Regions from separate parts of the Homo sapiens genome. Here regions 2, 3, 4 and 5 are each linked to region 1. Evidence: promoter capture Hi-C in 16 types of primary human blood cells and fetal thymus (Javierre and others, 2016). All regions are on one chromosome and are shown on one strand. Each heading gives the region's core, a stretch centred on a gene start or on the middle of the fragment in contact. The rest is flanking DNA. Distances are from core to core; before and after follow the strand shown. Region 1 holds the start of PDGFRL (platelet derived growth factor receptor like). Region 2 holds the start of PCM1 (pericentriolar material 1). Region 3 overlaps FGL1 (fibrinogen like 1). Region 4 holds the start of LOC124901893 (a long non-coding RNA gene). Region 5 overlaps MTMR7 (myotubularin related protein 7).

Region 1 (5,520 bases), core at 2,116-4,615:
ACTTAAGGAAAATAAAAAGAACCTACGTTGAAATATTGGGGGCGGATTCCCCTGATAGATTTTTGTGAAAAAATCATCTTGGTTGTATGTCTGTAGTTAACGAAGACTAGTTAGAGAAGTTACGTGTCCTTATCTTGGGGATGGAGAAGGGATGCCCAAAATATTGGCTGATTTTTTCTTACCTAACAAATTCCTAATGGTATTCACCACTTCAAAGGGGCAAATAAAAAGCACGGAAGGCAATGGAGTAGGGAGATTTCATGGGTAAGCATAGAAAGCTACCGTTAATTAAAATAGATAATGAAAATGGCCAGGCACGGTGGCTGACACCTGTAATCCCAGCACTTGGGGAGGCTGAGGCAGGAGGATCACTTGAGGTCAGGAGTTTGAGACCAGCCTGGCCAACACAGCGAAAACCCATCTCTACTAAAAATACAAAAATTAGTCAGACATGGTGGCGCACACCTGTAGTCCCAGCTACTCAGGAGGCTGAGGCAGGAGAATTGCTTGAGCCGGAGAGGTGGAGGTTGCAGTGAGCTGTGATCATGCCAGTGTACTCCAGCCTAAGCAACAGAGTGAGACTTATCTCAAAGAAAAGAGAAGAAAGAAAAGTGGGTGTTACAGGTAATGTGATCGTTTATCTAAAAACCCAAGAGATCAACTGAAAACTATTTAAGCTACTAAGAAGGTCCATTAAGGTGACCAGATACAAGCTAAACATACAAAAAAAAAAAATCAGGCCTTGGGAAAGCAGGCTTCAAGTTGTATTTGATTTAGAGCTGCAAGATAATGTTTATTTTAATTGGCTAACATTATAGTAATTGTTGGAGAAGGAATGGAAAAGATCAACACGACATTCTAATAATAAAATTCTTTCTCACCCTAGAGACAAAGCACGTGGATTTTTATAGTGAAATAAGACCTGTGAAAAATACAGCTTTGGCAGTTTTTGTTTTCAAATTTAAAATCATCTTGAGATTGTCTCATTCAAGGATAATAAGCCTTGTGATGAAATAGCTACGTGTCTTGGGAAGCCCTTATACTTCTTATGAATTCTGTTCCCATCTTAATACAGACCCCTGTATTAATTTGCTGGGGCTACCATAGCAAAGAACCACAGAGTGCGTGGTTTAAAGAACAGAAATGTATTCTCTTATAGTTCTGAATGGCAGAAATCTGAGAGCAAGGTGGCAGAAGAATGGGTATTCTCTGAGGCCTCTCTTCTTTGCTTTTATTTATTTATTTATTATTTATTTATTTTGAGACAGTCTCTCTCTGTCGCCCAGGCTGGAGTGCAGTGGTGCCATCTCAGCTCACTGCAACCTCGCTTCCCAGGCTCAAATGACTCTCTCGCCTCAGCCCCCCAAGAAGAGCCTCTAAGCGGCAAGAGAAAGAGGGACGACTCTCGGCTAAATGTAGCTGAGCCAGGGCAGTGAAGCTTGACAATAATGGCACAAGAGAGGTGGACCTGGCACATGCATAGTCAGCATGGAGGGGATACTGCGACCGAGAGGAGGAATCTAGACCCAACCCCAGGCTCCAACATGGAGTGAGAGTTAAGCAGTCAATTCATGGGGTCAGAATGAAAAGAAATCTCACGGTGGGGCAATTTAGGCAGATTTACTCTCTCCTGTGTGCATGCTCCAAGTCCTTTGCTCAGAATTCTCCCCAGAACCTGACACACCACATTGCAGTGGTCTAAATGCTTGTTCACTCCTTAAAAGTAGCCATGAGAGATGATGTCTCAACCTTCATAGCCGTAATGTTAATCACATAGCAAACTCCTGTTGAAATAATCACCTAGTTCCCTTTCTTAATAAACAAGAGATGCTAAAACCCAGAAGGTTAAGTGAATTCTGAGAGGCATGGAGAGTTTGTGCCAGTGTCAGCATCTGAACTCTGGTCTTTATTCCCAGCCAACTGCTCTCTGCATCGCAAGGCAAGCGAGTGGCAAAGCTCCGGCTAGAGCTGGCAACAGAATATAGAATTCTTGGTTCCTCCTGCAGAAGTGACTGAGAAGCATTAGTTTGTTATAAATGGCAGCACTTCTTTCGTTGGGTGTTGAGGGACAAGTCCCTTTCCTGTTATTTAGAATTGAGCTCCCTTTAATAGCAGTGCCTGGTGCTGAAGATTACAATGAGATGGGCTGCTTCTCACCGGGGGAACACACACAGGCATCTCCCCCGCTAGCAAACTGCTTTGATCATGAGAGTCTGCAAGCTCAGAAACGCAGGATGGCTCTCTGCAGAGGGACTTGTGAAAGCCCGTATCTTCTGCCCCACTGTTACCTGATAGAGTTGTCCAGGTTCTTGGCCTGTTGAACAAAAAATTGAACGAAATGCACGGAGTAACGAAAGAAAGAAGCAAGGAAAAACAAAGCAACAGAAGGGAGGAAGGAAAACGTAGATTTATAGAAGACAATTCACAGAGGGCGCTGCAGCAAGCCACAAGAGCCTGACGCTCCCCAGGGATTTTATAAAGCGAAAAGAACTTGGCAACACCCTTGGGTTCCCTTTAGAGGCCTCCAACTGGTTACACCTTACGAAGGACTGGCCTGCGACCAGTCCGAGGCTGAAGTGGAAACTTCTGCCTTGTTATCAGAGGAGCGAGGATGTGGCCTGTGTGCCGCCTAATCATGCCTAGAACTGTCTGCACCTGCTGATCTTTTGCTTCTGCGAACTGGCTGCACCTGCTGTTCTCCTGCTCATACCCTAGCCCGTGCTTACCCTAATTCCCTGTTCTCCTGCCTCACCACCAGAGGCCCGGGTTGTCTGCACAGTCTCATTTTCCACGTTATTCCTGTAATGAACCCGTCCTCCCACCCCCACCAGCAGTTACAGGGCTGGGTGCGGAGACCAACTCTGGCCAGACACAGAGGAGCAGCAAGAACCCGGGGCAACGGTCCTGTGAGTGAGTGCATGTGGGGGAGAGAAATGGAATGAACAGAAATAATTTAGGAAGCACTTTTTACAGAGCACTCAGGTTCTGCCTGAGGAGGTGGGGCGGGCGCTGGTAACATTTGGACAATCGTGGTTAAAAGTGACCCCATCAGCACCCGCTGATCCTTCTTGAACTTGATAACCTTGGTGAAAACGCCAAGCGTTGGAGAAATTCAAGGAATGGCTGTTGTAATGTACATTTCACGCTTAGCCTTTCCTCCCCGCGCTGGGAAGAAGTGCTGCGCACCGCGGCTCCGCCAGGGGGCAGGAGAAGTCACATTACACAGAGAACTAAAAAAAAAAAAAATTCCCCAACTTTTTCCCCCAAACCTTGTTCCTCCTGAAGAAACCGAATCCTCCCGCTTCGGCGTCCCAGGAGCCCGCCCCTCGCCCGCCGCCTCCCCTGCGTCCCCGCCCCGCGCAGCCGCCGCGCTCCTGCGCTCCGAGGTCCGAGGTTCCCGAGATGAAGGTCTGGCTGCTGCTTGGTCTTCTGCTGGTGCACGAAGCGCTGGAGGATGGTGAGTGACTCTGGGCGCGGGGCCACCTAGCTTGTGCCCTGACTTTAGCCGGGACCCGAAGCCCCCGCCGCCCTCCTGCCAGCTCTTGGTCTAACGTTCGGCCCTCGGTGGCTCAGCCCCCGCGCCACTGCCTGCCCGGTGCACCTGCCCCCTCCTGGTGGGGTCTCCTTTCCTCCCACTCTTTGCCTGCCCGGAGAGCCCTCTAGGGGTGGTGGCAGCTACCCCGACCCTTAGGAGCCCACCAGGACCTCTCCAAGTCCCCATCTCCGGGCGAACCAAGCATCCCCAGCCAGCGCCTGGTCCAGCCCCCAGTGTCAACGTGTCGGTCTGGGAGGTGGGGCGGGAGCCTCGGATCGCTTCCACCTCCCAGCGGCGTGGCTGGGACCTCTGCTGCTGAGAGCGAGTGCCACCTAAGCTCGGCAATCGCTGATTCGGTTGCAGAGTTCCAGGTGACCTCCCCCTCCCCTCGCAGTTCTGGGCGTGTTTTCGTCTACCACCTTTTGCTTGAATCCTGCAAGATCTGCCTAGATCTTCGAACAAAAATGTCAGTGTATGAAACTTCAAAACGAATCAAAAGCCCACGGCTTATTATATTTATCTAATTGGATGGGAAATGGTGAAGAAAATGCATTTTTTTGGTACAGCTTATGGGACCATGACCGCTGCGCGTTTTTGAATGTGTACCTGTCCTGGGTCCACCCTGTCGTGTACACCCGTGACCACAGGGTCTGGTGTTATTTTTCTGTGTGTCTGGGTGTGTGTATTACTGTGGTGTGTATTATATATTATTGTTAGCATTTAAATGTTTTGTTTGCTCTATTCACTCCATGGGTGTTATTTGTACAGTACATGTTTCATCTGGGTGCCTCCTGGTGTCCTCAACCCTCTCTTGAAATTCCTGGGCTACAACACAATTTTTGCTTAGATTTAGTGGAAAAGTAGCTTTTGCTGTTATGCAACTTCATGCTGGAGCCAGCTCGACCTGGCTCACATTTTTATCCACTCGTTCATCCTGACCAGTTCCTTTCTTTCCTAGGAAACTACATTTGCCAAAAAAATACCGCATTGTAGTTTGCAAAATCCAAGATAGTCGTGGTACTTGAAGTTGAGCATGAGGGTCCTTCAGCCTAGAGCTTTGCTTAATAAAACGTAGGCAGAGCTTCTACTGGGAGAGTAACACTTAACTCTGCCCAGAGAGAAGTTGCCATGAGTTCAGTTTGTAAAATGCAATATTAAAATGCTCCTGGCAGGCCCTTGTGTGCAACCGCTGAAAAGGCAGAAATGTAATTTGTAGTATCATTTTTTGAATAGGGCAGGAGATGGCCAGGCAAAATAATTTCAAATCAGCCATTCCTTTGTTTATACCCAACTTGCCAGTCTTAGAGGCTCAGAAATTGACTTCCATTCTGCCTCCTGGATCTCACCCAGCCCATGTGAGTTTATTACAAACATCTGACTAAATTTACCCTTTCTTTAAGTGTAATCCATACAAACAATAAGCATTTATGAGACAATTGGAGAAAGTGGAATACAGACTGAATGTAAGAAATAGTTCATAAATTTTAGGTGATAATAGCACGAAGATTTTGTTTATAAAAGTACACACATCTGGCCGGGCACAGTGGCTCATGCCTGTAATCCCAGCACTTTGGGAGGCCAAGGCAGGTGGATCACAAGGTCAGGAGTTCAAGACCAGCCTGGCCAAGATGGTGAAACCCCGTCTCTACTAAAAATATAAAAATTAGCCGGGCGTGGTGGTGGGCACGTGTAATCCCAGCTACTTGGGAGGGTGAGGCAGAGAACTGCTTGAACCTGGGAGGCAGAGGTTGCAGTGAGCCGAGATCGCACCACTGCACTCCAGCTGGGCGACAAAGTGAGACTCCATCTCAAGAAAATAAAGATAAAAATAAAAGCACACATATCTATAATGTATGGACTATTTATGGATACAATAGTGAACACACAGTGCTTCATTAAGTTATGTAACCGTTTGGCTAAACCTATTAAGAATGGTTTTTGGTTTTGAGTTGTGTTGTGAGTTGTGGCCAGGAGCTACTAAGGAG
Region 2 (5,520 bases), core at 2,250-4,749, 350 kb after region 1:
CAAATAACATGCAGTTATAAAGTAGTGGATTTGTCCCTGAAGATTTTTCCTTTAAGTTCTGTCACCATCTGCAGGTTAAAACTAGGTATTGCAGAAAACTTGTTTTTCAAAGATTAAAAAGTACAAACGGCTGGATTTCTGTTACAGACATGCTTACAATCCATCTGTGGATAAGGAGCATACAGAATACATTAAAGAGATAAACATTATAGCACCAAGTGTTTTGTTTTTTTTTTGAGACAGAGTCTCGCTCAGGCTGGAATGCAATGGTGTGACCTGGGCTCACTGCAACCTCCACCTCCTAGGTTCAAGCAATTCTCCTGCCTCAGCCTCCTGAGTAGCTGGGATTATAGTCACATGCCATCACACCCGGCTAATTTTTGTATTTTTAGTAGAGACGGGGTTTCACTATGTTGGTCAGGCTGGTCTCGAACTCCTGACATCATGATCCACGCGCCTCGGCCTCCCAAAGTGCTGGGATTACAGGCATGAGCCACCGTGCCCGGCTGTGTTATCTTATAAGTACCACCTGGTTAGTGTCCTACCAAATATCAAGAAACAGAAATAGTATTTTCACATCATAACAACTGATTTAGTTTATGTGAATAAAAATTTAAATCCCTTACTTTATTCATCCTGCTACTACCTTAGGCCAAGCCTTCATTACTTCATGACAGGTTGGCACCTGTTCTCCTTGTCTTCTTTTCCTAGTCTTTACAAAACATTGCCACTAGATTGAAGTCTTCAAATAACCATTTCATTACAGCATTGACCTCTTCCAAAGTCTCAAATGGTTTCACACTAACTGAAGAACAAAGTCCACACTCTTTAGATAAGTAGTTGACTTTCTATAGTTTGGCCCCAACCTGGTAATAAACCTTGCCTTCTCCCACCTCCCCATCACTTACCATATATAAATCCTCTACTTCAGCCAGTCTGTTTTTTGTCCATTGCTTACTCTGGATGTGTGATCTGTGTTCTTGGTATATCCCACTTCCTTGAACATCATTCTGCAATTTGGAACTTCCACCCCCTGCATATTTAATACATGTGTTAGGTTGTTCTCTTGAATGTGGAAAACTGAAAGGCAGTTTCAATGTTTATCTCTTAGAGGCCATTCTTCTGTTTCCTATCTACATTTCCACAGACTGCTGCCCCTAATTTCATCCTACCTATAAATCCTAGAGCTATCATTATCTCTGAGACAAAACATCCCTATTTTAAAAATCTAAATTACCACAGCAATCAGTGTCTACATCATTTGTTTGGCATAGTGACGGACTATTAACACTAAGTCGATTCATTCTGATAAAGTTTGTTTCTAAAAATAGATGTTAAATTTCTGAAAGCCAGGTATAATTTTATCGCTTCTTGTTTTTTTTCTTTCCTTCTTCCCTTACAAAGATCAGTAATGCTCATATTTGAGTTTGAGATCCCCTTTTCAATGTAAATATTTCTCAAATTCCTCTTACCTCCCAACAAACAATAGTATTGACATTCTGGGGCTTCATAAATTCAGAAAACATCATGACTAGTAGATATTATAATTTCATGCTTTTGAATTTATTAGAATTGTTTTAATGATAACAGCTTCTACATTTCAATGTAAATATTTCTCAAATTCCTCCTACCTCCTAATAAACAATAGTATTGACATTCTGGAGCTTCATAAATTCAGAAAACATAATGACTAGTACGTATTATAATTTCACGCTTTTGAATTTATTAGAATTGTTTTAATGATAACAGCTTCTACATACGTTTAATAATAATACATATGTATAAAGCAAAATAATGATGATAGCTAATATTTCGGGCCTCAACATATACTAGTGTTTTTATATGCGTTGTATTTAATTAAAAAAAATCTTAAAGGAATCACATAGACCTCCGTTTAAATTTAGGCTCTACCACTTGCAGCTGCTACAAGTTTGATTTATATAATCTTTCATTGCCAAAACGGGTCAGATTCAGAACCAGCCTCTTCAGGGTAACTGTGAGGATCAAGAAAATCACAACAGCCGAAGTGCTTTACAGTGTGCCTGGCATAAAACAAACTCTGAGAACATTTTTTAAAAAATCCTTTCAAGGTAGGCAGTATCATTCCTTCCCCCTCATTTCATAGATGGGGCAATTAAGGCTCAGAAAGGCACGTCGCTTGTCCAGGATCTTGGAGTGGTGGAATTAGGATAGGGCATTCTGGACTACAATAAACACCTGAGCGTTTAGCTGCTGTGTTCTGAGCTCCCACAGCACTTTTTCTTACAACACAAACTTTATTTACATCACACTCCACTTCCGCATCCTTCACTAAAATATGAGCTCTTCAAGGGCAGGGACTATATTTTTGCTACCGCAGTAGTTAGCGATACACACACAGAATATGAGGAAAAAGTGTCTGACCAACGATCAATGCACTCACGACTGAACCTACGGTGGCAGATTGCAGTGGGATAGAAGAGCTTTATGTGAATTGCGTACTGAGATGCAGACCTACTATTTTGGGAACAATTTGTTTTTGTTGTTGAAACCCAGAATGCAATTCTTCTTTTTACCTTTATTTTGCTTAAAAAGTTATTCCATAATTATAAACTGCGTAAAACTAGAAGAATGCCCTTGCACTCAACTAAAACTGACAGGTGTTTTACCTTTCCAGTCAGGCACATTGAAGGCCTTGTGACTTTATTGATTTTTGTTTTTTAAAGGGAGGACCTGCCAATTTATTAATCTTAATAGAGCTGTAACAGGAGAGTATAAATAAAAAGATAGTTCAGAGAAAATTTACTGAAATTAAGTTTGGATTAAAATCATCTGGCTCTTTTAAGGAAAAGGGACATTAACCAAAAGTGGCGTTAACTATCAACAATATTTATGATTCTCTCACTCAGTAGATACATAATGACGTCTGGCAAATTGTTTAACTTCCGTGGAACAATCCCCTCATATGTAAAATCAGGAGGTTGGACTACATTGTAAGTGTCCTTTTGTTTCCACCTCTTCGTGACCGAATGTGGGGTGAGGAAGGGGCAAAAAAGCGATCCCGGTCTTGGCTCCTTCTTCCGGCACGGGCCGGAGCTGACACCCCCACGGAAAACCGCACAGCGCCTCCGCTCTTTCTCCACGGGCTGAGGGATCAATGCACTTCCGCATAGGCCTAGGGCCCCACGCTCCGCGATCAGCGCCGGAAGCGCACGGCATGCTGGGATTTGTAGTCCTCCACCTGTGGCCGGCAGGCGTTTAGAACGCGAGGTCTAGTTGGCATTCTGGGATACATAGTTCCTGGGCGGGTGGGGGCGGATTCGTTGGTGTAATCTCTTTTCGGCTTAAAGAGCCAGAAGCGACACCACAGACTCCGGCGGGTCACATGACTCCAGTCTAGCTCGCATTGCGGCTCCCGCCCGGGCGAGTTCTCGCCCCCGCGCGGCCGTTGCCGAGGAGACGGCGCATGTCCCGCCGCGCGTTGCCCCCTCTGCAGTACCCCCGCCCCTCTTCTCCCACCACAATGAGATCCTAAGATGGCGGTGGCTGCGGCGGTTGGCGCTGCGTAGCTGAGGTCGAAAAGGCGGCCACTGGGGCCGAGGCAGCCAGGAAACGTGTGGGCCTCTCTGCTGCGGTCTCCGAGGGCCGACCGCTGCCGGCGGCGGGTCGTGGGGGCTGACTGTCGCTCTGCCTTTGACAGGAGAGGCTGCTTCTTGTAGAGGTAATGCCTGCGCGTCCCCAGCCCTTGGCAACCTAGGGCGGCGCGCCCCAGAGGCGGGAGAGTAACGGCTCCGGGACACTCGGCCCTGTTGGGTCTGGCCACGGGCCCACGCCTCCTCTGTAGGTTCCCGGGTCTTCCTGCCCCGGGCTTCCCGTGCCCTAGGCGGTCAGTCCGCCCGCTCCCTCAGGACTGATCGCCGGGATCCCCGGGTGAGCACCTCGCGACGCGTTGGTGATTGCAGGACTCCCTTCTTGCCTCCTCGCCCCTCCTGCTGGCCCTGTCGGGGAGGCTGTTCTGCGTCCCGGTGGCTCCGGCTATACCCCTTGCGGGCGGAGGAAGCGGAGCGGGGACTCTGGTTTGGGTGCTAGGGGCACTGGGTCGAGTTCTTAGAGAAACAGGCCTTGGTGGCCATAGTTCTTCCCCGCGTTCCCTCTGTGGAACTCTCGGTGTCCAGAGTTTGGGGTGTAGAAGGGCGGATGAGGAGCGACGCGACTCTGAAGAGTTGCAGTTGGGCTGTGAGCTGCAGGATTTCCGCCGTCTCTGGTGCTGTGGGAGCCGATGGGCCGGGGGAGGCGTTCCTGGGAAGGTTAATGGAGTAATTATTGCCCCTTCTTTCTCCCTTCCTACCTATCTAGTTAGAATTGGGCCTAGAACCGGGAAAGACTAAATGCCAAGTGGGACTGGGGGAAACGTTGTTTGGTTTACAGAAACTGGCGTTTGGGGATTAGGCCCCGCCAGGGAGGCTGGGCGCGCCAACTTTGCATCCCTCAGCCTACTCCCCAGGAACTCGCCTGGTTTAATTTTTTTTGTTTTGTTTTGTTTTTTTGAGCGAGTTGAGGTCTGTATTGTGTGTCTTACGGGTGACGGTTCGTGTTTGGGCGCTGGAAGGAGCGGGCTTTCTGGGCGCCCCTACCACCCCCGCCCCATAACCGCTTTCCAGACTCCGCCTGCTGGTGTTCTCTGGTTACCGGAGTGGGTGTTGCAGAGCCTCGGGTGCACCTGCTCCTTTCTTTCCCTAGCACCTTCCTGGTGAGGACCCCTGAACACCAATATAATACAGAGTTTTTGAATTGAAGGTAAACCTGGTATTTATGTAGTGACGAGGTTATTTTATTATGAAGTACAGTAGCTTTTAAATGAGCAAACATTTTTAAAATCATCGGATATACGAGGTTGTTACATAGTTTGAGTAACAGGAAGCTCGATCAATCAGAGGAGTAAACTTTGGCATAGACTATTAAAGGATAGTTAGGGCTAACCATCTTTGTTACACTGTTCCGAAATAGATATCACTTTGCTGTTTGGTAAGATTTCAGAAGTTTAGGGGATTTAAGCATTTATGCATATCACACTATTTTCCAAAAGAATTGAGGTAACTTAAATTTAAAATATGAATAAGTTATATTTTTCCCCTTCTTTTGATCTTTCTAAACATACTTTAGACCAAAACTGAAGTATTTTTTATTCTGTATTTCATAGCGTAAGTAATTTACTTAAGTGATACATATTTTTAATCCTAATTAGGAAACAGCTTTGAAGTGTGGAGCGGGAAAGGAGCAGTTTCTGAGCTGCAAAAACTAGTTTCTAAACAGGTAATTTGACATTATTATCTGTATTATCCTTTGTATTAGAGTTGGAGAAGACTTTATGGTGGACACTGCTGTCACAGTTACAGTGCATGACTGAGGATCCTCTCTGCTTAGTAAACAAACTTTCTGGGTTCACCGCCCTGTTTGCTCTGCTTTTCGGCGTGCTGCTTTGGCCTGCCGGTATATCTTTGTTCGGAAAGGCCCTGTCATTCCTAATTATTAATTACTAGA
Region 3 (5,520 bases), core at 2,058-4,557, 310 kb after region 1:
TTACAGGCGTGAGCCACTGCCTAGAGTAAGATTTTTGAAAGCAAAGGTCACACCTTGCTAATTTTGGTATCCCTAGCATTTAATTCTTGTGGTGACCCCAATAACTGTTGTTGCTTCTACGGAATTATTCCTCAGGAGGCAAAATCGTTCTCAGAGGGAAAAATGTAATTTCCTTGCTTTAAACTACAGTCTGTTTATACTGACATACTTTCCTCTTTTACTGGAAAACAATGGGCTAAGTATAGTTTTGAAGGTAAGAGTTAAGAAGGAGTTGGGGACTTTTGGTTTGATTGAACACATGAATTTAATTTTTTCCTTCTCACAAAGCCCACTAGAAAATGAGTGAAGAAAAAGTTTAAAAGATGCGAACTGACAAAGTCAAAGAGAAAGGGAAAGAACAGCTAGTGTGCAATGTCAGCAAGTTGGTAGATGATAAAAAGGCATGTGGGGGGCCTGGTGCGGTGGCTCACGCCTGTAATCCCAGCACTTTGGGAGGTCGAGGTGGGCAGATCACTCGAGGTCAGGAGCTCGAGACCAGCCTGGTCAACATGGCGAAACCCTGTCTCTACTAAAAATACAAAAATTAGCCAGGCGTGGTGGTGGGCGCCTGTACTCCCAGCCACTCGGGAGGCTGAGGCAGGAGAATTGCTTGAACCCGGGAGATGGAGGTTGCAGTGAGCCGAGATCGTGCCAATGCACTCCAGCCTGGGTGACAGAGTGAGTCCCTGTCTAGAAAGAAACGAAATGAGAGGAGAAGAGAGGAGAGGAGAGGAGAGGAGAGGAGAGAAGAGAAGTAGGGGAATTGGCAAAGCAGCAGTAGAGAGGAGCACCATGAGAAGCGAGAGAAGTCACAGTGTAGCACCCTAGGGGATTCTGGATTGGAGGCACTGCTAGCTTGGAAGTGAAGGTAGAGGCAAATGGGCTAACAGTCAGATCCTCATCTAAATCCTGTGCAGCCAGGTGAATGCTGCTTCTCGTACCCTTTCAGAATATGGAAGATTTACTTTCTATTAAGATTGCCCAGAGATGCTCCAGGTGACATGACAGCAGAAGTGCTGGAGGGGAGGAGAGAGACCCTGTTCAAAAAGGGTGAGGCTTTCCCAGGCTTCTTCTCTTGCAGCCAGGCAACCGGCTCTACACTCTTCCTACCACTTTCCAGGCCAAAGAACATAGGATTCCTCGCTGGAGGAACAGCAGAGCTTCACCGAAAAGATCTTCAGAGACTGACATTGGAGGATTCTCCATCAAAGGAGGCTTTTCCTTGACTGATCGCTCTCCAAAGAATCCCACCAGTTGGGAAGCCTCCTTCATGCACCTGGGAGAGGTATAAAAGGTATAGGCACACTATTCTGCTTATTTCTTTCAACGTAAGTCTTCTTTCTGAAGAGAGGCATATTTTACATTTCATTCTCTGTCCACATCAAATGGTCTAAAGAGAAACACCAAATTTCTGTATTACAACACTGGGCAGAAATTCATATGATAGCAATTAGTCATGACTTAACCCTTTCACCCAACACTGTGAACAAAATAACCAAGATGGGCCGGGCGTGTTGGCTCACACCTGTAATCCCAGCACTTCGAGAGGCCGAGGCGGGCGGATCACTGAGGCCAGCATGGCCAACATAGTGAAACCCTGTCTCTATAAAAATACAAAAAATTAGCTAGGTGTGGTGGTGGGTGCCTGTAATCCCAGCAAATTGGGAGGCTGAGGCAGGAGAATTGCTTGAACCTGGGAGGTGGAGGTTGCAGTGAGCCGAGATCACGCCACTGCACTCCAGCCCAGGTGACAGTGCGAGACTCCATCTCAAAAAAAAAAAAAAGTATCTCTAGACCCATTTTTCCATTAAAGTTATCCTTTTAAACATATGATATAATTTGTAGCAACAATTTATAAGAACTCTGGCATTTCACTCTTTATTTTATCTTAGTAAATATTTTTTCTTTAAAATTCAATTGTATATTGAGTATGTACCTATCTTAGGCCCAGTGATAGAAATAGTAGTCTTAGGCCCAGTGATAGAAATAGTAATCTTAGGCCCAGTAATAGAAATAGTAGATGTTTTTATATGTAATGTATTAAATATAATTGATTATATTAAAATATTTGCTTATGTTAAAAATAGAGAAAATTAACTTTCTGATATTTAAAACATTTACCAATGTGAAAAAGAGACACCCTCTGTGTATTTTTATAAAAGATAAAATGGGGTGAGAATAGGATTGCAAAGGAACAGAAGTCGTGACCAAATTAGAAGAAAAGATGATTAGGTTTGCTATCAATTAATATTCGCTAATTAATATAATAAGCTTGGAATTATTTAAGGAACACTTTTCTAGGTCACATTTATTATTGTCATGAAAGGTAAAATCATTTTCTTTAAGATAAAAACATTGACTGCACTAAAGAGTCATCATTTGCAATGCAGTAGTGTCCTAAATCTCTTATTCCCAGATGTCAAGATTATGTCTACAAATTAAGAAAATTTCAAGTTGAAATAAGTATTCTAAACCGAAGACATCTGATGTTAGGAGCAAATACATTTTCATTCCGATCCTGGGGGTAGTTTCATGTTTTCTTTTGTTTTTCTTTTTTTGTCTGAGGGTCCTTGGGAACACTCCTTATTCATTGTGGCTGAATTTTTTCAACATCAGCATTGAATACTACAAAGGATTGTATCAGATATAAATCAATAGTCAATAATTTTATTAAGAAGTAAAAACCATCCATTTAAACTGAATTACAGTGGGAAAATATATTTGTAAAGAAGGCTTAGAAAATAAACAATAACAATAAACTAGAATGAGATTATTTCAAGCATATATTTTCTAACTATTCGTAGGTAAAGTTTTAAAAATTGAATGGATTCTAGTCCTCTAATCCCTGTCACTAGAAAATGACTGACCTACAGCATGCTTTAGTATCTTTTCTTCACAATAAGAGAATAATATTTTAATAATGACACACAATAATTGCTAAACAGGCTTGATGGGACAGTAAGCGTAGTTCCACAAAGATGCCAAGCAGCCTGCGTGGCCTGGGGCATTATATAAAAATGAGCTAGCCATTCAAGTAGAATGTACCTCTGCAAGGCTGCAATATTACTTACATTAAAGGGCCCATCATCAAGGGGACAAGGGCTATTTCCCCAAGTCTAACGTGGATTGGAAAAATAAGGAATACTCATCTGAAACCATATTGTGTTTGTGTTTGGGCATCACTAAACACTCTGCCGAACTTTGGCTGGGCGTGGTGGCTTACGCCTGTAATCTCAGCACTTTGGGAGGACGAAGTGGGAGGATCGCCAGAGGCCAGGAGTTCAAGACCAGCCTGGCCAACATGATAAAACTCCATCGCTACTAAAAATACAAAAATTAGCCAGGTGTGGTGGTGCACACCTGTAATCCCAGCTACTCGGGAGGCTGAAGCATGAGAATCACTTGAACCTGGGAGGCGGAGGTTGCAGTGAGCTGAGATTGTCTCACTGTAGTTAAGCCTGGGTGACAGAGCGACACTCCACCTCAAACAACAACAACACTATCAAAACACTATCAAATTTTAATTGGCCATTTTATTTTATTTCATTAGCCTCACAGTGAAAATAAGAAAACAAGCACAAGGATGCTTATGATTTCTCCAGGACCATTCAGCCTCTGGGGATATCCCCTGGGAATATCTCCCAAATCTCCTGAACCTCTTTCTTTATTGCCTGGTTAATCCTTTCTTACTGTATTATGTTGAACTATAAGAAATGGCAGATGTTTGAACATTTCTGACTTAGAAAAATGGCAATTTCATTGTTTCAAATTAATGCATATTGTTTAGATAGGAAGAACACACTTGAAAATCATTATAACCATTTATACTACAATGAATACCAAAAAAATAGGTTCAAAATATACTGTTTGCAGCTTACTTGATCAGAGAGAGAACAAATTGGCAAGAACCTGTTTTTATATCAATGCTGCCTCCCATGTTAATACATTAATGTGTGCCATTTAAAATATGTTTACAAAATTGCTAATACATCATCAACACATGAAATCTCACGATGTCTTTAGAAGACACATTATGTTTACTTTTTACTAAAGGAAGCTCAAATAGTGAAGCAAAGTAACTTTCCTAAGGAAAGACTCTACGTTCAAAATTTATACAACATCCAATCATTTCTCACCACCTCTATTGCTAATGTCTGGCCCAAGCTACCAATGGAAGATTCCAAACAATTTTTTAGAATTACAATGAGACAACATTCTATACTGAGCCTTTCCTGGGCAAACCGGGATATTTGGTCATTCACCGACAAAGCTTTACATAATCTGTGAGCATCCACCTCCTCAACACATCTCTTTTCCCATCATTTTTGCCTGTTCTGGCTACATTGGCCTCTTTGGCATTTTTGGAAAACCCTGAAATACACAGACTTCTCAGGGCGATTGCACTTGCTGTTCTCTCTACCTGGAATGCTCTTCTGAAAATCTCTGTGGTTTGCTCCATGACATCCTTCAGGTCTTTGCTCAGGTATTCCCTTCCCAGAGATACCTTCCCTGACTACCACATATAAAATAACAGCTGTCCCCTACTGTCTTAGTCCATTCTCATTTTATAAATTTACCCAGTAAAGATCTGCCTGAGACTGGGTAATTTATAAAGGAAAAAGGTTTAATTGACTCACAGTTTGCCATGACTGGGGAGGCCCCAGGAAACTTACAGTCGTGGTGGAAGGGGAAGCAAACATGTCCTTCTTCACATGATGGCAGGAAGGGGAAGAGCCAAGCAAAAGCCCCTTATAAAACCATCAGATCTCAGGAGAACTCACTATCACGAAAACAGCAGCATGGGGGTAGCTGCCCCCATGATTCAATTACCTTCCACTGGGTCCATCCCATAACATGTGGGATTACGAGAACTACAATTCAAGATGAGATTTGGGTGGAGACACACGCAAACAACATCACCCACACACTTCATATCTCTATCACAATGGATTCAGTTTCTCCTTAGCACTTATCACCAAATATAATGAAATATTATAATATATGTGTTTATTGTCTACCTACTCCAACCGCCCTGTACAATGTAAGCACGAAGAGGTGAGTGGCTACATCTATTATGTATACTGCCCTAATGCTAGGTGGATAGTTAGGTACTGTACTAGTTTCTTGAGGCCACCATAACAAATTACCATAAACTGAGTGGCCTAAAACAACAGGAGTTTATTATCTCACAGTTCTGGAGGATACAAGTCCAAAATCAAGAAGAACAGGGCCATACTTCCTTCAAAGGCTCTAAGAGAAAATCCTTTCTGGACTCTTCTAGCATTTGGTGGTTGCCAGCAATTCTTGACATCCTTTGACTTGTGGCAGTATCACTCTATTCTCTGATACCATCTTCACATAGCTGTCTTTCCTCTGTGTGTCTCTGTGTCTAATTTCCCTCTTCATATAAGGACATCGGTCATTGGATTAGGGTCTGCCCTAATCCAGTATGACCTCATCTTAACTCAGTTACATGTACAA
Region 4 (5,520 bases), core at 1,198-3,697, 290 kb after region 1:
CTTTAGGACGAACAACCTATTTTATTCACTTTGTTTATATAAAAAGTATTATTCTTAAATATGTACTATGCACATATGATAAAACATTTCACAACATTAAATGGTAGGAAATATAAAAAGGAGTGTCCTTTCATTGCGTCTCCAAGCCCAGTCCCCTGAGGTAACCACTATCACATAAAATGCAGATTTTTTCCACATATATATGAGATATGTATATCTTTTTTAAGTATCAATGAGGATATAACTTACTTTTCATAGTCCTGATAAAATACCAACAAAAACTTTGCTATGTGCATAAGATTATATAGGATATCTTCATGTGTCAATTCTTTTTTTCTTTTTTTTTTTTTTTTTGAGGTAGAGTCTTACGCTGTCACCCAAGCTGGAGTGCAATGGCACAATCTCGGCTCACTGCAACCTCCACCTCCCGGGTTCAAGTGATTCTCCTGCCTCAGCCCCCCGAGCAGCTGGGATTACAAGCGTGTGCCACCACACCGGGCTAATTTTTGTATTTTTAGTAGAGACGGGGTTTCACCATGTTGACCAGGCTGGTCTCGAACTCCTGACCTCAGGTGATCCGACCGCCTTGGCCTCCCAAAGTACTGGGATTACAGGCGTGAGCCACTGCGCCTGGCCCTTGTAAATTCTTTACTAGCAATGAGGAAAGAAAAAGCAAAAGTAAGTATCTGGGATCTTAAATTTGATACTATTTTTAGACACTGATTTTGTAGGATCCAATATTTTGATATTCATAGAAATAACCAGTGGCCATAAGTTCTGTAATATCAAATGAAGTAGCACTCTTCTATGAACTATACACTTTACATTCATTATATGGTTTCTTTTTTTACTTATTTCCTCAATCAGTCAGTCAACGAACATTCGAGATCCTGTCATGTGTCAGACACTGTGCGGAGAGCTGGAGATAAAACTGTCAACAAGATGAATGCAGCCTCTAAAATAAAGAGTTTCTAATCCAGTGGATTCTCTGTTCATGCTTCTTGCACTTTCTCTACACTTTGCTCTATCAAAAAAAAAAAAATTCAAAACACTCACGAGTTTGTTGACCTTAAAGTGGAATCAGCTGATACAAATTAAAAGCATTTTGCATTTCAAAAAGTGATAAAGTCTAATAAATAGCTCACTAATGGTGAAATTTCAGAGACATTTATTTTAGGCTGGGGTCTTCCTAATTCAGAAAAAATCAGTCCAGTTTCCCTATTTTACATCCAAACTCCTCAAATGACCAATCTCTATTCTCTCTCTTTTTTATTTTTTGGATGAGTCTCTCACTCTGTCGCCCAGGCTGGAGTGTAGTGGCACAGTCTCGGCTCCCTGCAACCTCCACCTCCCCAGTTCAAGCGATTCTTCTGCCTCAGCCTCCCGAGTAGCTGGGACTACAGGTATGCATCATGATGCCCAGCTAATTTTTGTATTTTTAGTAGAGATTGGGTTTCACCATGTTGACCAGGCTGGTCTCAAACTCCTGACCTCAAGTGATCCACCCACCTAGGCTTCCCAAAGTGTTGGGATTACAAGCGTGAGCCACTGCTCCAGGCCCCAATCTATTCTCTCTAACTGCTTTTATTTCCTGGCCTAGAGCTCCCTACCATTCCACTGAAACGGATTTAATAACACAAATAGCATTATCACTAAGTCCGAAGATATTTCATTAGAACTTCTCTTCCATTATTTTATGGCATTTTAAATTTTTAAAATCACTCCTTCTGCATTGAAAAACTATCATACTGAGGTTTGACGCCATAATTTGTTTAGCTCCCCTCCCACTTCTCTGTGGAATCATTTTTTTTCTCCTTTAAAAGCTTTTCTTCTTTTGATCTCCTAATTGTGTGAGTTCTTCAGGCTACTACTTGAGCAATTAAGCCCATATTTAAAATTGTCACTGATGATCCATTATTTATAGCTTACCAACGTGTGTTTTATGGAACACTGTTCCCACAAGACCACATTGAAAAACAATCAAGAACCCTGGCAAACATTTCTCCTTTGCCTGCACATTCTACAGAGATCATAAAAATAAATATTCTTTCTCCTGATCATACTTCCAGACAGAGTGAACATATGATACAATTCTGACCAACAAGGCATAACTGAAGTCTGTTGACCCTTCGCTTTTCTTACTGCTTTCAACACGAACTCAAAGCAGGAACCGTGGTAGATAATTTGCAATTTTGAAGGATGGGCTAAATGAATTGCAGGGTCATCAGCCTCCACGCTGCACTGAACATAGGTCAGCAACCACTTACCTCCTGAGTTCTCACTACGTAAGATGAAGAAATCTTTATTTGTTTGGACTTCCGTAGTCAGGCAATTTATACCTCGCACCAGAACATACTCTTAATTAGATATAAAAATGCTACATACTATATGTCCTTCTTGGAGCTTCAGAACGCACATTAGAAAAATTAGAGAACTGAGAAATTCCCAAGAGAAGAAACCTGTGGAATTCTGCTGAATTTGTCATCTCCTAAATTTATTTGATCAGGCAGCCCTTTTCTTCTTTCTGTACTGAACTACCAATGTCTCACAGAACTATGGCTCTCTAGCTTTTTGCTTTTCAAAGTGTAATTTCTAGACCAGCAGTATCTGCATTGTCTGGAAACTTCTTAGAAAACCCAAATATTAGGCCCCATCCTGGAAGCAGAGTTACATTTTAACAGGATCTTCAGTTGGTTTGTATGACACTAAAGACTGAGAAGTGCCGCTTGGGAAACACTGATTTAGAGAATAAAGTACAACTAACCTTAATATCCTTATGTGGCCTATGATTTCAAGGGCCTCTATATCATTACTGTCCCTTAATGCCTACTTCACAAGTCAACACACCTAGTTCTTATTGAATGCTTACTTTGTGCGAGGCACTATGCCAAGTGCTATAGTTTTATAATTCTCAAAGCACCCCTATGAGGCAGGTACTATTGTAATCGTTACCTTGTAGATGAGATAGCTAGGGCTCAGAGAAGTTAAGTTGCCTACCCAACGTCACATAGCCATTAAGTGGCAGAATCCTTGGCTTAAGGATTTAAGGATCACTCAACTATATTGGCTTTCTAAGCTTTTGTTCCCAAGCACTTTCCTGCTCTGTGTACTTAACACACATGATTCCCTCTGCCTGCAATATCTCCCCACGTACACCTTCTTAAAAGGTCTCAGCTCAAAAAGTCAGTTGTTCTGGGAAGCTTTTCTGATCTCCTACCCCAAAGCCAGGTCAGATCCTCCTGGTAAACATTCCCCAGGCACATATCTTTACTTCATACATATCAGCTTTTATAATTATGTATATTTTGTGATTCTATGATTAGTGTATGTGTTTACCAAAAAACTAAGCTCCGTGTGGGCTTTAACTGTATCCTCTGTGCCTGACACACAGTTGACACACAAATATTTTTTAGAGTATCTTTTTTTTTTTTTTTCTTGAGATGGCTTCTCGCTTTGTTGGCCAGGTCGGAGTGCAGGTTGGCACGATCTCAGCTCACTACAACCTCTGCTTCCTGGGTTTAAGCAATTCTCCTGCCTCAGCCTCCCGAGTAGCTGGGATTACAGGCTCACACCACCACGCCCAGCTAATTTTTGTATTTTTAGTAGAGATGGGTTTTCATCATGTTGGCCAGGCTGGTCTCAGACTCCTGGCCTCAAGTGGTCCACCTGCCTCAGCCTCCCAGAGTGCTGGGATTACAGGCGTGAGCCACCGTGCCCAGCCTTTTGGAGTATCTTTTACTCTCATTTGAAACGTTCTCTCCCTATTCTGCACCAATCCAAGTTCTACCCAGAAGAAGCTATAGGATGGTGGCAAGATATTTGATTTAGCATCAGAAGACTTGGATTTGAGGCCTTGTTCCCCTACTTTGTAACTTGGAGCAGTCACAAAAACTCAGACCCACTGATTCTCAGCTCTGTTAAATGGACATAATAATAACCTCACAGGATTGGCATAAGAATTAAAATGAGCCCTGTGAGAGAAGTGTATAACCTACATAAACTTCCTAAAAATACGAGTAGCGTTTTGTAGTGATTAAGATCCTGGGTTGTGCTTAAAAGTTTCCACTCTGTAATCCAAAACCTGAGTTCAAATCCCAACTCATAATATTTATTGTCTCTGCGGTTGATTCGGCAATCCATTATTTGCTGGATTTTGTCATGTGTTTTGCCAATTGCATTCATAATTTATTATGCATTTATGCTTGTATCTCCTAAGTCATGGTATATAATCCATGCTTTTTATGTTTTGTCTGACATAAGCTCTTATCAGAGCCCTTTGCACACAGGGATTCAATAAATATTAACACAGTCTACATTTATTTGGTGAATATTGCATATCTGCTGTACTGAAAGCACATTAAGTAACAAAGGCAAGTGAGAAGAATGAAAAGCACTACTCACAACAGTTATCATGATTGCGCATGGATATGTTCAGAATGAGTATTTTTCAAATCACTTTAAACAAAGCTGAATTGCAGAAACGAAAGCCCAACAGCAGCAATTAAATTACATTTGGAATAAAATCATTTGGCCTAATTTTCATAACCACAGATTTCAGAGAATACCACCACCCATGCCAGGTGTACCAGACAATCCCATTGTCTGTTTTAGCCGTGTAGGGGCCGCTGTAGTATACACCATTCAGGTTTGCAGAGTGACACCTAGTGGAAGGGAGAAAAAAAAAGAAAACAACAATCAGACTGGAAAAATATTGTTCAGAATCCCTTTTATTTTGCTACAAATGCTCAAAATTTTTGAACTATGAATTCTGCCATTTTTCAGACAAGTAAATATTTACTAGTTTCCAAAAGCTGAGAAATTTCTACAACAGATGGCTATTGTATTTTATTTTTTATTTTTTAATTTTTTTTTAATAATAGAGACAGTGTCTCACTGTGTTGCCCTGGCTGGTCTCCAACTCCTGAGCTCAAGCAATCCTCCTGCCTCAGCCTTCCAAACTGCTGGGATAACAGGTGTGAGCCACTGCGCCTGGCCTCAGAGATGGGTATTTTAAAATGGTGAGTTTTACTGCCATTACAAATCTGAAAATACAACCCAGGCCACTCACAGTGCATTGAAAAATAAGCATTTCAATTTTTGATTTTCTTTAAACAAAAAATTAAAACAAGCAAACAAAAACGCATCCTTGTAACCTCCAGCCTTACAACCTCCTGACTCAGAACAGTGTTAATTTCATACTTAACAAGAGCTAAGGTGAGTGTCAGCAAAGCAAGTCGTGGGCAAGGTGCTCTACTACTGGCTTTCCTGGATAATTTGCACTCACACGTTCATTCCTCTGCTGCTAAGACTTAGCTTTCATAATTCAAACTCCGTATGTCCCCTTCTTTAAATTGCTAGCCTATCAGTTATTTCAATCTCAAGGGTAAGCAAACAAACCTAAATCACCATTTAAAGTTTTGCCACCCATCAACCAATAATCATTTTTTCCTAGTTGCTGAGTTAATTTTTTACATATATTGCACCAATCTAGATAAGCTGGTTAGGTTATCGACAATATAA
Region 5 (5,520 bases), core at 1,886-4,385, 260 kb before region 1:
CCTAATGGAAGAGAATACTCTGGAAATATTTTACCATTTGATCACAGTGCTGACACACTATCAGCTAAGCATTGTATTCTTTCGCAAAATCATATCTTCAGCGCACAGACTACGGAGCTCTACAAAGCTGGCTATCCAGTCAGTGCAGTGCAGCTTAAGACAGGGAAGCCCATGGCAGAGGGATACCCATTTTGAAGTCAGTGGTTTGCTCATCTGTCCCTTAATTTATTTTCTCTGCAATTGCATACCTTTGCAATGAAGATTCCTGCATCCATTATGGCTTTAATGTGCCTTAACCAGCCAGAGTTCTCCAGACCCCACAGGAAATCACTCATGGAGGGAGATTTAAGTTCACACACTGCAAGATAAATCATGTTATAAAAGCAAAATTAAGGTACTCTCTCATTTTACATATGATCATGTTTTATAGGTAGTTTGTTAATGATTCCTTTGTTGTATTAGGTATTTTCTGGAAGCAAGCCTTAAGTCAAAATAAATACCCACGTTTACTAAACTTGATTCTATGGAACCATTTCAAGTAAGGCTTTTCTACCTTCTCTGGTCACAGGGAATGCTGCACTTGTTTACAAGTATTATATATATGTAAGGTTGAAATCCTAATATTAATGAAAATCATTAAGAGTTCTGGCAGAAAATATCGATTTGCCTTTCCAGCAAAGTAATTAAAAATGGGCCACTAAGGAATATGAATTGGGAGTGCTATGAGGAAAAAAATCATATAACTAAGTGTAGCACCTACCCACTTAGAAGTTTCTGTCACCCAACCACTTCAGATTAGGACTGTTGTAAAAACACAAGACAGAGCGATCCTAAATTTCTTAAATGAAAATGATCAAACTCCTCTTGCCAATAACCCCCACCCAATGGGAGTAAGGCCTGTAAGCTTAAAAATAACACATATGCCTCTGATCCAATTCTAGAGCATCAGGGTAGAGGCTTTCCCTTTGAGTGAAAATGAAGAAAACCTAGGATCCCAGTGGTATCTATATTTACACAACTAAGGCAGGTGTATAAACACCTCTATAATATTATAAACCACCAACTTTCACCTCAGGAGCTTCTTTTATTTAACGTAAAGCATTAAAAAGCTTCAGAGCTAGTGTTCTGAGTACATATCACAAATACGGCAATCCAAAGTGGAGGTTTAGACCTATAAAGCCCTATTGAGGAGTCTTATCAATCAACCAATGAAATTCAATCAAGAAATCATAGATTTCTTTTTATTTTATTGTTCTCTGTGATGCAGTAAACACACATAGGGAAAAGGGAGCCCATTTTTCTACCCCCAACTCCATGGGCAATGAGCTGTGTAGTCTTGCACATGTTATTCCAGTCTCTGAGCCTCAATTTCTTCATTTTTAAAATGGGGAAGGTGTATAAATTATATCCTTCCAACTGTAAACCCCCAGATTCAACTTTGTGAACTCTTTGAAAGCACTGTGCATATGGGTCACATAGCAGCATTAACAAAAATATTAATTTATCAGATGCCCTGCCTCCAAGAATGCAGATAAGAGGATTCACTGTGATTTCCTGCAGCATAAAAGCCACACACAAAAAAGCACAAGTAGTTAAATTCTGAGTCATAGATGACAACAGTGTTGAAGGAAATAACACCAAAATTCCCAGCAAAACACCCAACCTAAGAAAAACATATTATGAATATGTTCAGGCAAGATTCCAAAATCTTCCTTCCAAATGCCTGCCCTGAGCTAGAAGCACAGCTCTGAAGACCTGATATGCAGTCGGTGAAGGGACAGCCCTTTGAATTCGCTCTGGTTCAGAGCACTACCTTTCTAAGGTCACAGTGTTGCCCCTTGCACACCTCAGGCCCAGCATCACAGGCAGGAAGACACTATGTGTCTGATAAAGTACATGCAGAACGGTAAATGAGAGGGTGCTTAGTGGAAGGCCAGTGAAAAATACACACAATGATTCACAGAATCTATGGCTATATATTAGCCCTGTGGCCCTTGGGTAGTCAGCCGTGGGCTGAGAGTTCCCAAGCTTACAGTTTTAATCATTAAAAGTTATACAATATTTAAACATATGAAGTTTAAAATGTAGTATGTCCTGACAATGAAATACTGTTCAGTGATAAAAGGAGATGAGCTATGAAAAGACACAGAGGGAAGTTAAATGCACAGTGCTAAGGGAAAGAAGCCAACTTTTCCTTGAAAAGGCTACATATTATATGATGTCAACTATATGACCTCCTAGAAAAGGCAAAACTACGGAGACAGTAAAAAAATCAGCGGCTGCCAGGGGTTAGGGTTGTGAGGGAAATAAATAGGTGGGGCACAAGAATGTTTAGGGCAGAAAACTACGACAGTGGTTACATTTATTAAACGTGTCAAAACCCACAGAATGTCCAACAGCAAGAGGGAACCGTACAGTGGACTTTGAGTGATACCGATGTGCCAATGTAGGTGCACTGATCACAACAATGTACCACTCCGTCGGGGATGTGAATAATGCAGGTGGCTGTGCATGTGTGCAGGCAGGGCTAGCTGGGACTCTCCGTACCTTCTGCTCAATTTTGCTGTGAATCTAAAACTGCTCTTAAAAAGAAAAAGTCTTTAAAAACATGATAATGTAACAGACATCCAGATTGGCCACAACTGCTCCAGATGTCTCTTAAGAAAAAAAAACAAAACAGAAAAAAGGCTGGGCACAGTGCCTCACACCTGTAATCCCAGCACTTTGAGAGGCCAAGTCAGAAGGATCATTTGAGTCAAGGAGTTCAAGAACAGCCTATATAAAGTAGTGAGACTCAGGCTCTACAAAAAAGAGAAAAAATGAGCGAGACTGAGTGGCACATGCCTACTGTCCCAGCTACTTGGGAGGCTGAGTTGAGAGGATCACTTCAACCCAGGAGTTTGAGGCTGCAGTGAGCTATGATCTTGCCACTGCACTCCATCCTGGGTGATGACAGAGCCAGATCCTATCTCTAAAAAATAAAGTTACAAATAAAGTCTCGTGTTTTCGTGTCATCCTGCTTCTTTCCTATGAAGATTGTTAATATTCCCAAGAACTTTTTGTCCTTTCACTACTTACATACTAGCTATGTGGGCTTGGGCAGATTACTTAGCCTCTCTGTCCTTCAGTTTCCTCAACTGTAAAATGGTAATAATAGCCTCTGTATCAAACTGTTATTATTTATGTTAGCCCTTATTACTATTATTCTCAAATAATATATATATTTTATAGGTACTAAAATTTACATATATATTATAGTCTGCAATTTTTATCCAACTTTTTTTAGATATCCATATTATGTAAATAAATTTCATTAATTTTAACAGCTATATAATATTCCACTCTATATCTTAAATTATTTATCCATCCCCCTACTGTTGACAGTTGTTCCCTCCTTTTCAATATTTACAAACAGTACAGTAAAAAAAAAAAAAAACCTTTCTACAGTCTCCTTGTGGAAAGTCTCCCTGTACCTGGATTTCTATAAGTGAAATGGGCTGGGTCATAGAGTTCCTAAGTCTTCAGCTCTATCATGCACAGTTGGCCCTCTGTATTCTCGGGTTCCACATCCTTGGAGTCAACCAACCACAGAGCACAAATATTTGAAAAAAATAAAAATAACAATACAACAAAAAATAATGGTAATAGAAAACCAATCCAGTGTAACGACTATTTACACAGCACCTACATTGTATTAAGTATTGCAAGTAATCTAGAGATGATTTTAAATATATGGGAGGATGTGCATAGGCTATATGCAAATACACCATGTTATTATGTAAGGGACTTCTGCGTGTGTGGATTTGAGAATCTATGGGGGCTGGGGTGGGGGTGCTGGAAACAATTCTCCTTGGATACTGAGGGATGACTCTACTGCCAAATTGCTCTTGAAAAGGGCTGCAGTGGTTTATGCTCTCACCAGTAGGTTGGGAAAGTTCCTTTTCCCATATCCCAACTAATACTTGGTAATGCTGATGCTTTAAGTTTTGCCAATCTTATAATATTTCTCTAAGAATATTAATGGCAGTTTTTGTTTTCTTCTCTGAATGTTGTTTTCCAGACTTTTTAGAATTTGCTTGCTTATATGTGTGTGTGTTGTGGGGGTGTGGTCTCTGTCCTGCATGTTGAGCTTTCCTCAGTTTTCTGCTAATTTTTGCCTATCCATTCACATGTAAGAGCAAGACACAGGATGCTGGCTGGCAGTGCCGTGTGCCGTGTGCATGGGCAGGCTTTCTTAGCTGCCAAGCTTTGCTATGGGGGATTTGGCCAATGTAACATCTGCGAGTCCTTTGTCTTCGATGTTTGTAGGCCCCGGCATGGAATCTTCTGAACACCTGAGTGCATCACGTTGGATGCCAGTGTCCTAAGAGGACAGCTGGGGCAGTAACCATGGGTCTCATTCTTCCATACTTACACTTTCACTTAACCCCTGTTTTTGGCCTGGAATTCCCCATCCCCTCTTCCAGCTTTGCCTGGTACTCCTGATCCCAGAGTCCCTGCGGTCAACGTTTCCAGAAAGGTTGACTTTCCAGAAAGTGTATCACCATCTTCTCTTGTGGAAGTGTGGAAAGAGGCTTCACTAGGCAGTGCAGGGGAGGAAGGAGGCTGGGACCCAATGAACTGCTTCTCGTGCAAACATTCGGCTACTACTCGTTTCAGAGATACCTGATGGCTCGAATTCCAGAGATTGTCTAAGGATCTGCACTTCTATTTAGCTTACTTTGGGGTTTCTCATACTTCCGCCATAAATTGCAGCTTTTTTTTCTAGTCTGTGGCATTACTTATCACTCATCCATTTATTTTGCAGCTTTTATATTTTTGTTTCCATGACCTCCTCTTTCAATCTCCCGTCCTTCTGTATTTTTGCCTTTTTTTCCACTTCATTCTCATTTCAGTGGGAAGTCAGGAGGAGGTGGGTAAGTTATTATATGTTGTGTTTAACTGGAACAGAAACAAGAAATTCCTTTGGGTCTGTGCAAGGCAGAAGCTGGAACTGAGACTCCCTACATCAAACTGAGCTGTTAAAAAAAATCCACTCATGCACTCAGGATGATGATGGGAAGCCAGTCTCTGCCTGGACCCTGCATGAGGAAAACAAAAATCTCTCCTGAGATGCTGAAACCCTGGGCCTAGTCTCACACATGTTTGGGATCCGAACACACCTTCCTTATGCACGGAAGCCCCCAAGATAAGGAATTATCATGCTCGGGCTGGGAATCTCACAGACACCCAGCAGACGTACACCAAATGCTGCTTAGGAGCAGCGCTTCCACAGTTCTGTGGAGTCCACAGAAAAAGCTGGGCTGAAGACAAGTTTACAGCACACCAGTGAACAGCGTTCATGATAATGGCTAGCAGGCAGAGGAAAAAAGGTACAGGATGAGCACCCCAAGACCCCGATATGATAGAACAGTCATCTGGAACAGGCTTTAGGTTACTGGAACTGCAGCAGGAGGATGGACGGCTCCCACAAACATAACGGATAGTGTTCCCGATGGGTCTGGACTCGCTCTTCCTGTG

Evidence for each region. The method cuts DNA at HindIII sites, captures the fragments that hold promoters and counts their contacts. A CHiCAGO score of 5 or more calls a contact.
Region 2: a contact is called between the fragment with the promoter of PCM1 here and the fragment with the promoter of PDGFRL in region 1, in 7 of 17 cell types (naive CD8 T cells, total CD8 T cells, activated CD4 T cells and 4 more). The highest score is 9.5, in naive CD8 T cells.
Region 3: a contact is called between a fragment that was not itself captured here and the fragment with the promoter of PDGFRL in region 1, in 1 of 17 cell types (total CD4 T cells). The highest score is 5.1, in total CD4 T cells.
Region 4: a contact is called between a fragment that was not itself captured here and the fragment with the promoter of PDGFRL in region 1, in 1 of 17 cell types (endothelial precursors). The highest score is 6.6, in endothelial precursors.
Region 5: a contact is called between a fragment that was not itself captured here and the fragment with the promoter of PDGFRL in region 1, in 1 of 17 cell types (endothelial precursors). The highest score is 6.1, in endothelial precursors.

What each region holds. Positions count from the first base shown.
Region 1 is chr8:17,573,851-17,579,370 of GRCh38, forward strand. It overlaps PDGFRL (platelet derived growth factor receptor like), which reads left to right and starts at 3,366. Exons shown (of 6, transcript NM_001372073.1): 1 at 3,366-3,457. The coding sequence starts at 3,403. RefSeq lists silencers at 3,572-3,631, 3,722-3,771. The HindIII fragment of the contact is 7,010 bases long and covers 1,437-5,520 here.
Region 2 is chr8:17,919,489-17,925,008 of GRCh38, forward strand. PCM1 (pericentriolar material 1) reads left to right here and starts at 3,500. Exons shown (of 39, transcript NM_006197.4): 1 at 3,500-3,700; 2 at 5,225-5,292. LOC124901867 reads right to left here and starts at 5,499. Exons shown (of 4, transcript XM_047422505.1): 1 at 5,426-5,499; 2 at 4,669-4,739; 3 at 4,021-4,278; 4 at 1,540-3,858. The coding sequence starts at 5,499. The coding sequence ends at 3,176. RefSeq lists silencers at 692-986, 3,712-4,006 and enhancers at 2,868-3,317, 4,468-4,527. The HindIII fragment of the contact is 6,694 bases long and covers 1-5,520 here.
Region 3 is chr8:17,886,026-17,891,545 of GRCh38, forward strand. The region is part of intron 1 of FGL1 (fibrinogen like 1); the gene reads right to left. Among named protein-coding and RNA genes, the nearest start is that of FGL1, 6.7 kb to the right of the region's middle. The HindIII fragment of the contact is 1,999 bases long and covers 2,309-4,307 here.
Region 4 is chr8:17,860,091-17,865,610 of GRCh38, forward strand. FGL1 (fibrinogen like 1) reads right to left here. Exons shown (of 8, transcript NM_004467.4): 8 at 4,299-4,661. The coding sequence ends at 4,502. It overlaps LOC124901893 (a long non-coding RNA gene), which reads left to right and starts at 378. Exons shown (of 2, transcript XR_007060835.1): 1 at 378-678; 2 at 868-979. The HindIII fragment of the contact is 1,253 bases long and covers 1,822-3,074 here.
Region 5 is chr8:17,313,044-17,318,563 of GRCh38, forward strand. MTMR7 (myotubularin related protein 7) reads right to left here. Exons shown (of 14, transcript NM_004686.5): 8 at 249-358. It also overlaps a transcript of VPS37A not described here. Among named protein-coding and RNA genes, the nearest start is that of VPS37A, 69 kb to the left of the region's middle. The HindIII fragment of the contact is 2,218 bases long and covers 2,027-4,244 here.